Regions from separate parts of the Homo sapiens genome. Here region 1 is linked to region 2. The links are contacts of gene promoters, found by promoter capture Hi-C in blood cells and fetal thymus (Javierre and others, 2016). All regions are on one chromosome and are shown on one strand. Each heading gives the region's core, a stretch centred on a gene start or on the middle of the fragment in contact. The rest is flanking DNA. Distances are from core to core; before and after follow the strand shown. Region 1 holds the start of PACRGL (parkin coregulated like). Region 2 holds the start of DHX15 (DEAH-box helicase 15).

The links. Contacts are between HindIII fragments. The CHiCAGO score rates a contact against its expected background, and 5 or more counts as called.
Region 1: a fragment that was not itself captured here is called in contact with the fragment with the promoter of DHX15 in region 2 in 1 of 17 cell types (total B cells); the score reaches 5.7 in total B cells.

Annotation. Positions count from the first base shown.
Region 1 is chr4:20,697,326-20,702,394 of GRCh38, forward strand. PACRGL (parkin coregulated like) reads left to right here and starts at 3,133. Exons shown (of 9, transcript NM_001258345.3): 1 at 3,133-3,462. RefSeq lists an enhancer at 3,246-3,365. The HindIII fragment of the contact is 2,624 bases long and covers 1,382-4,005 here.
Region 2 is chr4:24,581,667-24,586,895 of GRCh38, forward strand. DHX15 (DEAH-box helicase 15) reads right to left here and starts at 2,888. Exons shown (of 14, transcript NM_001358.3): 1 at 2,657-2,888. The coding sequence starts at 2,727. RefSeq lists silencers at 2,147-2,196, 2,397-2,476, 2,487-2,606 and an enhancer at 2,787-3,326. The HindIII fragment of the contact is 7,218 bases long and covers 368-5,229 here.

The DNA of each region.
Region 1 (5,069 bases), core at 1,444-3,943, 3.9 Mb before region 2:
TTAAGACAATATTTTCTTAAAAATGCTTGGTGACTTAAATGTAAGTAAATAAATAATGAATAATTTTTTCACAAGTCAATGAGAACCAGCACAATGAGAAAAAAAATCGTCCTGAGTGGTTTACTTTGGTTAGATTTATTACCTAACTCATAAGGTTATATAATATGGAGTAACAAAAATAGGGCAATTTGAAGAAATTTTATTTATAAAGGTACAGGGTACCACACAGACAGTGCAGTAACCTAGAGATAGTAGCCTCTGAGATTTTGTGCCTAGAACTGAAGTTTGCCATTTAGAAAGTTTTTTAGTCTATTTGGGCTGCTATAGTGAAATACCGTACATTGAGTAGCTTATAAACAACAGAAATTGATTTCTCATGGTTCTGGAGGCTGGAAAGTCCACATCGAAGTATCAACAGATTCAGTGTCTGGTAAGGGACTACTTTCTGGTTCACAGATGAAATTGTTTCACTGTGTCCTCACATAGTGGAAGGAGTGAGTGTTCTCTCTCAGGCCTCTATTATTAGGGCACTAATTCCATTCACGAGTGTTCCAACCCTATGACTTCATCGCCACCCAAAAGCCCCACCTCCAAATACCATCACCTTGGGAGTTAAAATTTCAATCTATGAATTTTGGAGGAACAGAAACAATCAGACTATAGCAGAAAGATGTGATCTTCACTTATGGGTATGACCAGCTTTAGGGAACCCCCTAAGGATAGGAGCAGGAGAATGAATACTCTGACTTCACTCTCCTCTAATTCTCTAATCTCCTATTAGTGTTCTTCAGTAGCCAAACCCAATCAGAAACCAGAGGGCACTGGAGCCTGGGTGATATAGTTTATGCTGATCAGCATCCCAGAGCAAATAACAGGACAAAGGGAAGAGTGTACCTATATGAGAGCAAACAGAAAATATATGGCATATTCTGTCTTTTCAGAATCATTTACTATATTGCTAGGCAAATAGGTCACCTTTTTTCCCTCATCCCATTCTCTCTTAAATAGAAAATTAAACCTTAAAACCTGAATAGAAGACAAAAGTCCACAATCAGTGCTCTGTTTCTCACATATTGTGAGCTTTCCTAGAAGGTATTACTCCTATCGCCCAACTCAGCGTCTACATATGCTGATGGCTCAAAAATCCATAGCTATGCCCAGTTCTCTTTCCTGCCCTCTAGATGAGCAGATCCAACAGCATGCTAGTTAGCTCCCCCTGGATGCCTCACAGGCTTGTCAAACCAGTGTATTCAAGAAAGCACCCACCACTTATTGCATAATATCCTGATAGAGTTGCAATGCCAAGGAGCATGTTTTCTGTTCATTTTCTAAAATGATGACAGAAAGTTTAGAAGAGGCTGTTTTAACTGTGATTAGGAGAAGCTTATACTAATTGTTATTATAAAGATCTGAAAAATCCGTGTCATCGTCCATGGTTCATACACCAACACATAGCATGAGACTTTTGCCACTTACGATGTCCTCCACGTTAGTCTTAATTTGCTTTCACCTGAATAATTGCACTAGCTAATACTTATTGAGTACTTCCTATGTGTCAGGTATTCAATTGTCCTCTTAAATTTAAGTCTCGCAATAACCCAATAATGAAGAGGAAATTGAGGCTTGTAGGAGTCGTCATCCACAAGGACTCATAGCTGATAAGGGGTGGTGAGTTTTAGATAGCTTAACTCCAGAACACATATGCTTGTCATTCCTCTGCGATACTGAATACAAATCATTCTTATAGTCCAGGGAGGAGGGGTTAAAAGGTCACGAACTAGGAGCTCTACTGAGTCTGACACTGGAGATGCTAGGAGTAAGGAAAATATAATAAGTCTTGAGGAAGCTGGAGATGAGAGATTATAAAGTAAAAGTAGCTGAAGATACAGGATATAAGATTTTTTTTTTTAAAAATTTCTTTTTCCTTTTAAAAACGTTAGTTAAGCATGCATTGCGCTAGGCATTGGGGATAGAAAAGCAATAAAGACAATTTCAGTCTAGTGAGAAAGATAGGTAAATACATTATAATAAATTTTAAAACTTAGATTTGTATGCAAGGTTCACAGAACATTAGAGAAATTAGACATAGACAGAATTTATTAATTCATTTTATTCATTCAGAAGACATTAGTTGAATACCCACTGCATTATGCTTGAAGCTGGAGAAATAAAAAGGGCAAAGTTAAAATCCTTATCCTGAGGAAACTCACAATCTAATGAAGATGCTTCTGGGGTGCTGGTCAAGTAGCAAGGATGGAGCTACAGGAGCACAGAAGGATTACACAGCCTCGAGTGCTCAGACAATGCCAATTTAGTGTTACCTAAGCAAAAAGTTAGGGCTTTGGGTTGGCAACAGTAGAGGATGCTAAAGAGGAGTGCAGTGGACAGGTCCAAAGGGCTTGGACTTAACTATGACAACCCAAATTGTTGCTGGTGGAATGCAATACAAGGGAATATGCATTTTCCTGCAGCATCAGTTTTGTTATGATGTGGAGCATAAAATCGTGCTTTTCACTATTAAATATTTTTACTATTAAAAATAATGTAGAGCACAAAATCGTGCTTTTTACTATTTAAATGCGGATATACTGTGAAGAATGCAATAGCATATGAGATTCATAAAATACGACAGGAAACGAATTTCCACAGCTAGGCTTATGATTTAGCCAGATAGAACAGGAAACTACAAGAAAATCCCACAGCTGGGCATGCAGATGGCTTCGGCTCTCACCCCTGAAGACTCGGGGGGAGGAGTTCACAGTCTTCAGTTCTCCGAGTATTGAGGGTAAGATAGCTGAGGAACAATGAGTATTAAGTGTGCGAGAAAAGCGTTTAGGAGTTAAGCACATGGACTGAAGAGAGGCTAGGGCGCAGGCGACTGGGAACCCGTCATCGTCCCTCTGCTCTCCGGACCTCTTATTCGAAAAACATCCTCCACCACGTGCCCCTTTGTCGCCAGAGACAGCGCCTGCAGTGCGTGAGCTGCCCCCTGAACTCCTGGCGCCTGGTTGCCTGGGCAACCCTCTTCTGGGGCGCCTCCGCGACCTCTTACCATTGGTTTAGACGACGCAGCGTGCGTCTGACGTCATTGCGCGGCGCGACCAGGTTCAGGGGCGGGCCGCGCGGAGCCTCATTTCCCCAAACGCAGGCGCTCGGTGGCGGTAGCCGCGGTTGTTGGCCGACCGAGTGCCGGTCATAAGCCCCCCCCGGTGGGGGGCAGCTGGTGTGCGGATCGCGGCGGGAGAGAGGCGCGGTAGGAACGGGTCCCCGGAGCCGTGAACCGCGGGTACAGGTGTCCTGTCTGCGCTCTCTGCCAAGCCGGCTTGCTTCCTGATCTGTTGCTAGGGCCGCTGGACCCCGTTGCTAAGGACCCTTGAGATCGTGAGCGCTTGGAGTGTACCCCTCCTTTCCTGGGGTAGAGGGTCAGTCGAGAGTAGCCTTCGTTAACCTTAATTGAAACTGGTAAACTCCTCCCTCGGCCCCTTTAAAAAATCTCTGTTTTTTCTTTATTTTTTTTCTGTGTCTTCCTCTTTTGCTGACTTTGATAGCATCCTGGCTCTGGACTGGTCTTTAAGTATCTAGAAGTGAGTGTAGGAGGGGTGGCTGGGAAGGTGGAAAATAGATTCTAAGACCCCTAAGCAGATTGTGCGACCCTAATACTGGCCCTTTGAATTTACTTTCTGGTAAAAAAGGGACTGGGATAAGTGACTATTGGGCTCTGGGTCTTTTAGAATTTGACAGAGCTTTACAAATGGAACATGGTTTCTTTAGTGGGGCTCTTACTTACACGTTTGGAACTTTCTAGACCTGGATTAGAAAGCAGGGCTCTGCTGACTGAGAATTGTTTTAGTTCAGTGGTCTTAAAGCTGAGTACGGGAGAAAGTACATACAGGGAAAGAAATAGGCTATATCAGCTGCCCAAACAATGATAGAAAGTACACTTTCCTACCATTGACACAGATACCGGCAGTCCCTTGTAGATAGATGACCTGTAGCAACCAAGGAAGCTTTAAGGGGAATGTGTGGGCTTCATAGGGTGGTTTGTTTGCTTTCTGATATTGTGACATAGTTTAGGTGTTCGAAGTTAAGTGGATTTATGGATTCTAATATCTATAATTAGAATGTTTATCTTGTTTTGTAAAAGAATGAGCGGTGACCTTGATAATATTTGTAACACAAAATAGTTCTTACAGGTTCGCTTCTCCCCATCACTGCCCCTTTACACCATCCTCTACATGTTATTTAATGAAAAACCACTTGAAAGGGTTACCAAGGATAAGATTTTTAAAGCTTGCTTTCACAAACAACTCATGCTCCAGGCTTGTCAGTGGCATGCTTCCAGGTGGATATTATTTTAAAAAATTGACTACATTTCCCGTCGTCCCTTGGTGTCCGTGGAGAATTGGCTCCAGGACTCCCTCCCTCCCCCCAGTCTCTTTCAGATACCCAAATCCACCCATGCCAAAGTCCTCCAGTCTGCTCTCCGTATCCGTGGTTGGGTCAAATCTATAGATGTGGAACCCGCATATACGGAGAGCCAACTGTAATTTGTCGTTAAGGTAAAGGATAAAAATTTTAAGTGAAAAAGCAATTGTTTTGGAAGGAAATTCTCTAATACAGGATTTTGAAAGGGGATGTAGACGTGTTTGCATTACTGTATGTTTAATGCTGAAAATTATATATTGTACATAAAAGTTGTCCTGTATACTCATAAACTGTAGAAGCTCGATTTTCTACCATGTTTAAAACTTTTTCAAATGAGTTTTGGTGACTTTTTGAACTCATTCAAAATATAATGCAACACCTCCCCATTAGTTTGTTACAGGAACAACTTTTTGACGTGAAGGAAGATAGAAATTTAGCCATAAAATTCCATCCAAAACTTCCACTGAATTGGTAGGTAGTATTGAAAAATGTGCATCATAATTTGATATGGCTGCCTGTGCCCTTGTTATGTTTGTGGGTACGCGTCTTTGCTGTGCATCGCTTTTATCTGTTGCAGCTGTTAACAATTGATGATCAAGAGAAATTGGACCTCAGCTGGTCTTCAAATTGATGTAGCCCAAGAT
Region 2 (5,229 bases), core at 1,638-4,137:
TTTACTTTCCCATAATTAACAGAAAAAACTCTTATCAGGTGGTAATATCAAAAACCAACATCAAAATGAAAAACGCCCCTAACATCGAAAACTTTTTTCCATACTTCAACAGTAAGTATGGAAAATTATTACTTTCGGTAATTGTATAGTGAAGATTCTGTGGGTTGACAAAAAGAAGAAATGAGGCCAGAATATGCAACAGAAACCTATAATAACTTCACCTGATTTCAAAGTTAAAATATGCCAGGAGTAAATAAAGCCTTATATAGTTTGGGAGCATTAATATAAGTGAAATCTCCCACTGAATTACCTTCCCTTCTCAGTACTGCAGAAACCCTATCTGGCAGTGGAGTTTGTAAGACTGACAAGCTTATGCTCTCCAATAAAACCACTTGCTTATCAGGGAAAAAAAAAATCTGCAGGATTGCATGGCAGTCAACAAGTGACTTAAAATTATCGAGTATGAAAAAATTCTGAGGCCGATAAACACCTTAAGTCCACTGTTAAATAAAACCAGTTCAAGGATAAATGGCACTCAAATGACATAGAAATGAGTATAAAAACTTCCCTCTACTATTTCTTATAACTTGGGCATTATTCCAAAGATGAACTCTCCTTTATCCATAGGCAAATTCTAAATAATATACAAGGGAATCATAAAGCTACCATTAGACTCCAAAAGTCAACCTTTTTACTAAGGATATCTGTTTTTGCAAGAGAAAGTAAACAATCGCACATACATATGGTGGGACCACTAATCCCAAGGGGAACATTTTAAATGGTGCACATATGCACAAATACAAATGAATTCATTCATTCCCTCCCAGAATATTTTGTTCCAATCTGACCTCCTGTGAGAGACATCAGTTCCAGATGACAGCAATTTATTTTTGCCTTAGAGAAATCAAGAACTAAGTGTTCCCTACTTTACCAACGCATTATAAATGTCATTAAAATAGGCTGTAATGACTCTTAACTACAGTACTGAACTGTGTGCTGCTGAGTGAAAATGACAAAGGCAGGGTTCCAGATCCTGCTGTAAACTTGCACAAGCCACCTTAACTCTGTTCTCCACTTCTCATTCCTTGATTGGAGCCGCGTATAGTCTTTTTTAAGTTGCTTCCAGCTCTGAGTCTGTGACATACAGCTCAGAGGTATTAACGTTTTGTGGGGCGTAATGGTGGGGGAGGGTGATAGCCTAAAGAGAGTCTGTCTTACAATGTCATTGTCTTTTTTACAATGCCTAATATCGTAAACTAAATAACTCACAAAATTAAAATGTGACATGCTTTTGCTTTCTATTGAATAATTCAACATATGGCAAAGCCTCAAAAAGTACACCCTATCCTGGCTTATACTCTACAATGACACTAAACATATCCCTGGAAATCAATTTCAATGAAGAACTTTAGCTGAAAAATTCAAAACAGCTATACAGGTGACTTGACACAGTGATTCTGTATCACAAGTACACAATAAAATGATACAATTATGCAAAGTATTTGGCTACTCGGGCTTTTGTGGGTTTTGCCTGAATTATCCAAACAGGTCTTTGTACTTCATCAATGAAAACACACAAGGGACAAGAAATGATTTTCACGAAATTGCTTAAATTAACTGCTAAATTCCTCTGTACCTTTAAGGAAAGGAATCTGGAACACCAAGAGTTTGTGTAAGTATTTCAACTCTCAACCTCCACATGGGCGGTGTTTCGCCATAAATACTAAAAACACGTTTTGAACATGATCCCTGTATTTCAAAAGCTACTTATGAAGAAAAGTGGGACATGCATAGAAAATAAATGATGAAAAAAAAAAACAATGCCTTCTAATCCCTCCCCATGGGACGATGTTCAGTAACCAGTTTTAACCAAAGCAGGAAATACAGGAGATGGCGGGAGCGTAGGCAGAGAGCGGAAGTTTGCTAGTATCTACTTTGAAGTGTTTGAATGGACCAAGGCACGCTCTCTCCCGCCAAACTATAAACTCAGTCGCCCCAAAACACCAGCCTTCCAGCCCATCAGGTATATTACTCCACGTTTTCCTTTCTCCCGGCAGGTCCTCTACTCCCACCTCCCCCGAGAACTCCCTATTTGCTGGCTTCTCTCAACTCCCGCCACCCCCATCCCAGCCTACATTATGATCCACGCGCTGCTCTCACTTTCCGCCCTCCGCCTTTCCCGTCTGGAGTGCCTGGCCGCGCCCCCACCCAGGCCCTCCCCACGGCCCCTCTGGCTGGGAAGTGCCTGCTGCCCTTGGAAGCGAATACTCCCACCGCGCCCTCCCCCACCCTCTCCTCCGGCTCCAGGCCTTCCTCGGGAACCGAGGCCACGAGGTCCGCGGTTCACTCCCGCCCGACGCCCTCGCAAATGACTCCCGCTCGGTTCGGCCTGGGGGAGGAGGCGCCCTCATGGCTACTGCAGGCCTCTCCACCCTCCGGACTGGGCTGGGCAGCGGCCCCGTCGCACGCAACCCCCCGCGCCCTTGCCGGGCCGAACGGGCGCCGCGCTTCTCCTACCCGCCGCTAGTGAACCCAGCCCAGAGAGAAACAAAGGCTCGGGCTCCAGGACCCGCTCGGCCAGGCCAGCCCCGGCCCGCTCCCTGCCAGGACCCCAACAAAGCCCGAGCTGCCGCCTCGCGCCCCCGGCCTGGCTTACCCATCGGTCCCCGCACGCTTCTTGCCAGAGGGGTAATCCTCCCCTAGGTCCAACCGGTGCCGCTTGGACATCCTCGCACTCTTCGAACGGGCAGTTATTAAGGAAGAAAGCTGGCTGCTGTATGGGCACAGTCGAGGACAGCCACTTAACTCTGGAGGACCCCCACCCCTCCCGCTACTACAGCCCACACGGTGCGGCCGGAACCAACAGCTAAAATGGCGGCGGCGACGAGGGCTGGGCCTGCGCGCGCGCGCGCTTCCGCAGCGTGCGTGCGTGCGAGTGTGCGTGTGAGCGAGGTGCGCGCGCACGACGCCCAAAGGCGGGAACTCCTGTCCCGCCCGCTGCCTCATTGGTCCGACCTTTCTTGGGTCTCCTCCCTCTTCCTGTAGCTTTCCCCTCCTCGGAGCGGCTGTTAGGAAGAACCTGAAGGCCTTCACTTTCCATTTCAGGCTATCCTTGCCCCTCTGAGTCAAGAAATTGAGAAAGTCTAGTCCTAGTTAGGAAATCCTATTCATTTCTATTACCCCGGCTTTAAGGGAATCTCAGACCCAGAGAGGTTGAGAAACGAATGAAGATCGTACAGCTAATAAGTGGCAGAGCCGGGATTGGAACCCAGCTATTTAGTAACTCCAGATCTGGAACTTGCGGCCACTGCGCTACCCTCAGTTGCAGTGAGGGGCCGCGCGATGGTTCACGCCTGTAATCCCAACGCTTTGGGAGACCGAGGCGGGTGGATCACGAGGTCAGGAGTTCGAGACCAGCCTGGCCAACACGGTGAAACCCCGTCTCTACTAAAAATACAAAAATTAGCTGGGCGTGGTGGCGTACGCCTGTAATCCCAGCTACTCGGTAGGCTGAGGCAGGAGAATCGCTTGAACCTGGGAGGCGGAGGTTGCGGTGAGACGAGATCACACCAGTGCACTCCAGCCTGGACGACAGAACAAGACTCCGACTTGAAAGAAAAAAAAAAATCAATTGCAGTGAGGAAACTGAAGTGAGAAAATGTTAAGGCTTGTCATGATCTATTTTGCCCTTTTCTTGCCCAGCACGGACACCATGCACCCAAGCTATAGATGTTTTTAACTAGAATACAGAGAATTCGCAGTGAGGGCACAATTTGCTTTTTTGTTTTTTGTTTTTCTGTGCCTATTAATGCACTTTCGCAGTGTTAAATAACACCCTGCAAGGTAGTTGTTATTTTGTAGACGTAGACGCAAAGGCTGAGGAAGGTTACATCTCCTAGCCATAAGGGCTGTACCTAAAGCCATAACAAGGAGGTGGGGCAAGATGACTCTAAGGATTTTTGTGGATCTCTCCCCCTAGAATATGTCTGCTTCCTCAGTTGCATTTGTTCCCAGAAGAAATGCACAAGAAAAGATCTGTGGACCATCTGCAGCAGGGTGATCTCTGTTGTTCATGGAATGGCTTGGTTTGGCTGCCCTGGAAGACCATACTCTGGTTCTTATCCAAATCTCAGGACTGCAATTGCTAGGATTAAATGCAACTTAAATATTGCAACTGATGAGGGGTTTGTGTGTTTGTTTTGAGACAGTCTTGCTCTGTCGCCCAGGCTGGAGGACAGTGGTGCAATCTCAGCTCACTGCAACCTCCGCCTCCCGGGTTTAAGCCATTCTCCTGCCTCAGCCTCCCTCCTAGCTGGGATTATAAGCGCCCGCCACCACGCCCGGCTACGCGCCCGGCTAATTTTGGTATTTTTAGTAGAGACGTAGAGACGAGGTGTCGCCATGCTGGCCAGGCTGGTCTTGAACTCCGGACCTCAAGTGATCTGCCCACCTCGGCCTCCCAAAGTGCTGGGATTACAGGCGTGAGCCACTGCACCCAGCCAGCAATTGGTAAGGAGGGTTTTTATTTTTTTGTACCAAATCCACATTGGAAAGTCAACACAAAGAAAAATGAGTATATTTTTCACTTGTGAAATATTCAGTACAACTTTCTATCCTAAATGTACCATAGTCCCTACTTTGTCCCTGGTTTTGCTTTCACAGTACAGTAAGATATTCTGAGAGAAAGACCACATTCACATAGCTTCTATTACAGTATAGATTCTCCTTGACTTATGATGGGGTGATGGCCATCGCAAAGCCATCGTAAACTGAAAATGTTGTAAGTTGAACATGCAGTTAATATACCGATAAACCCATCGTGAAGTCAAAAAATCTGGTCAAACAATTGTAAGTCAAGACTGTCTGTATGTTGTTATAAATGTTTTATTATTAGTTGTTAATATCTTACTGTGCCTAATTTATAAGTTACACTTTATCATAATTACATATGTATAGGAAAAAACTGAAATTAAAATGATGAGTTGGCCTTCTATTATCTGTGGGTTCCTTATCCCTGGATTCAATCAACTGCAAATCAAAAATATATTTTTCTTTAAAAATGGATGGTTGCATCTGTATTGAACATGTACAGACTTTTTCTTGCTCTTATTTCTTAAACAATACAGTATAACAGCTATTTCCATAGCAATTACATTGTATTAGGTATTATAAGTGATCTAGTGATGATTAAGTATACAGAAGAATGTGCATAGGTTATATGCAAATACT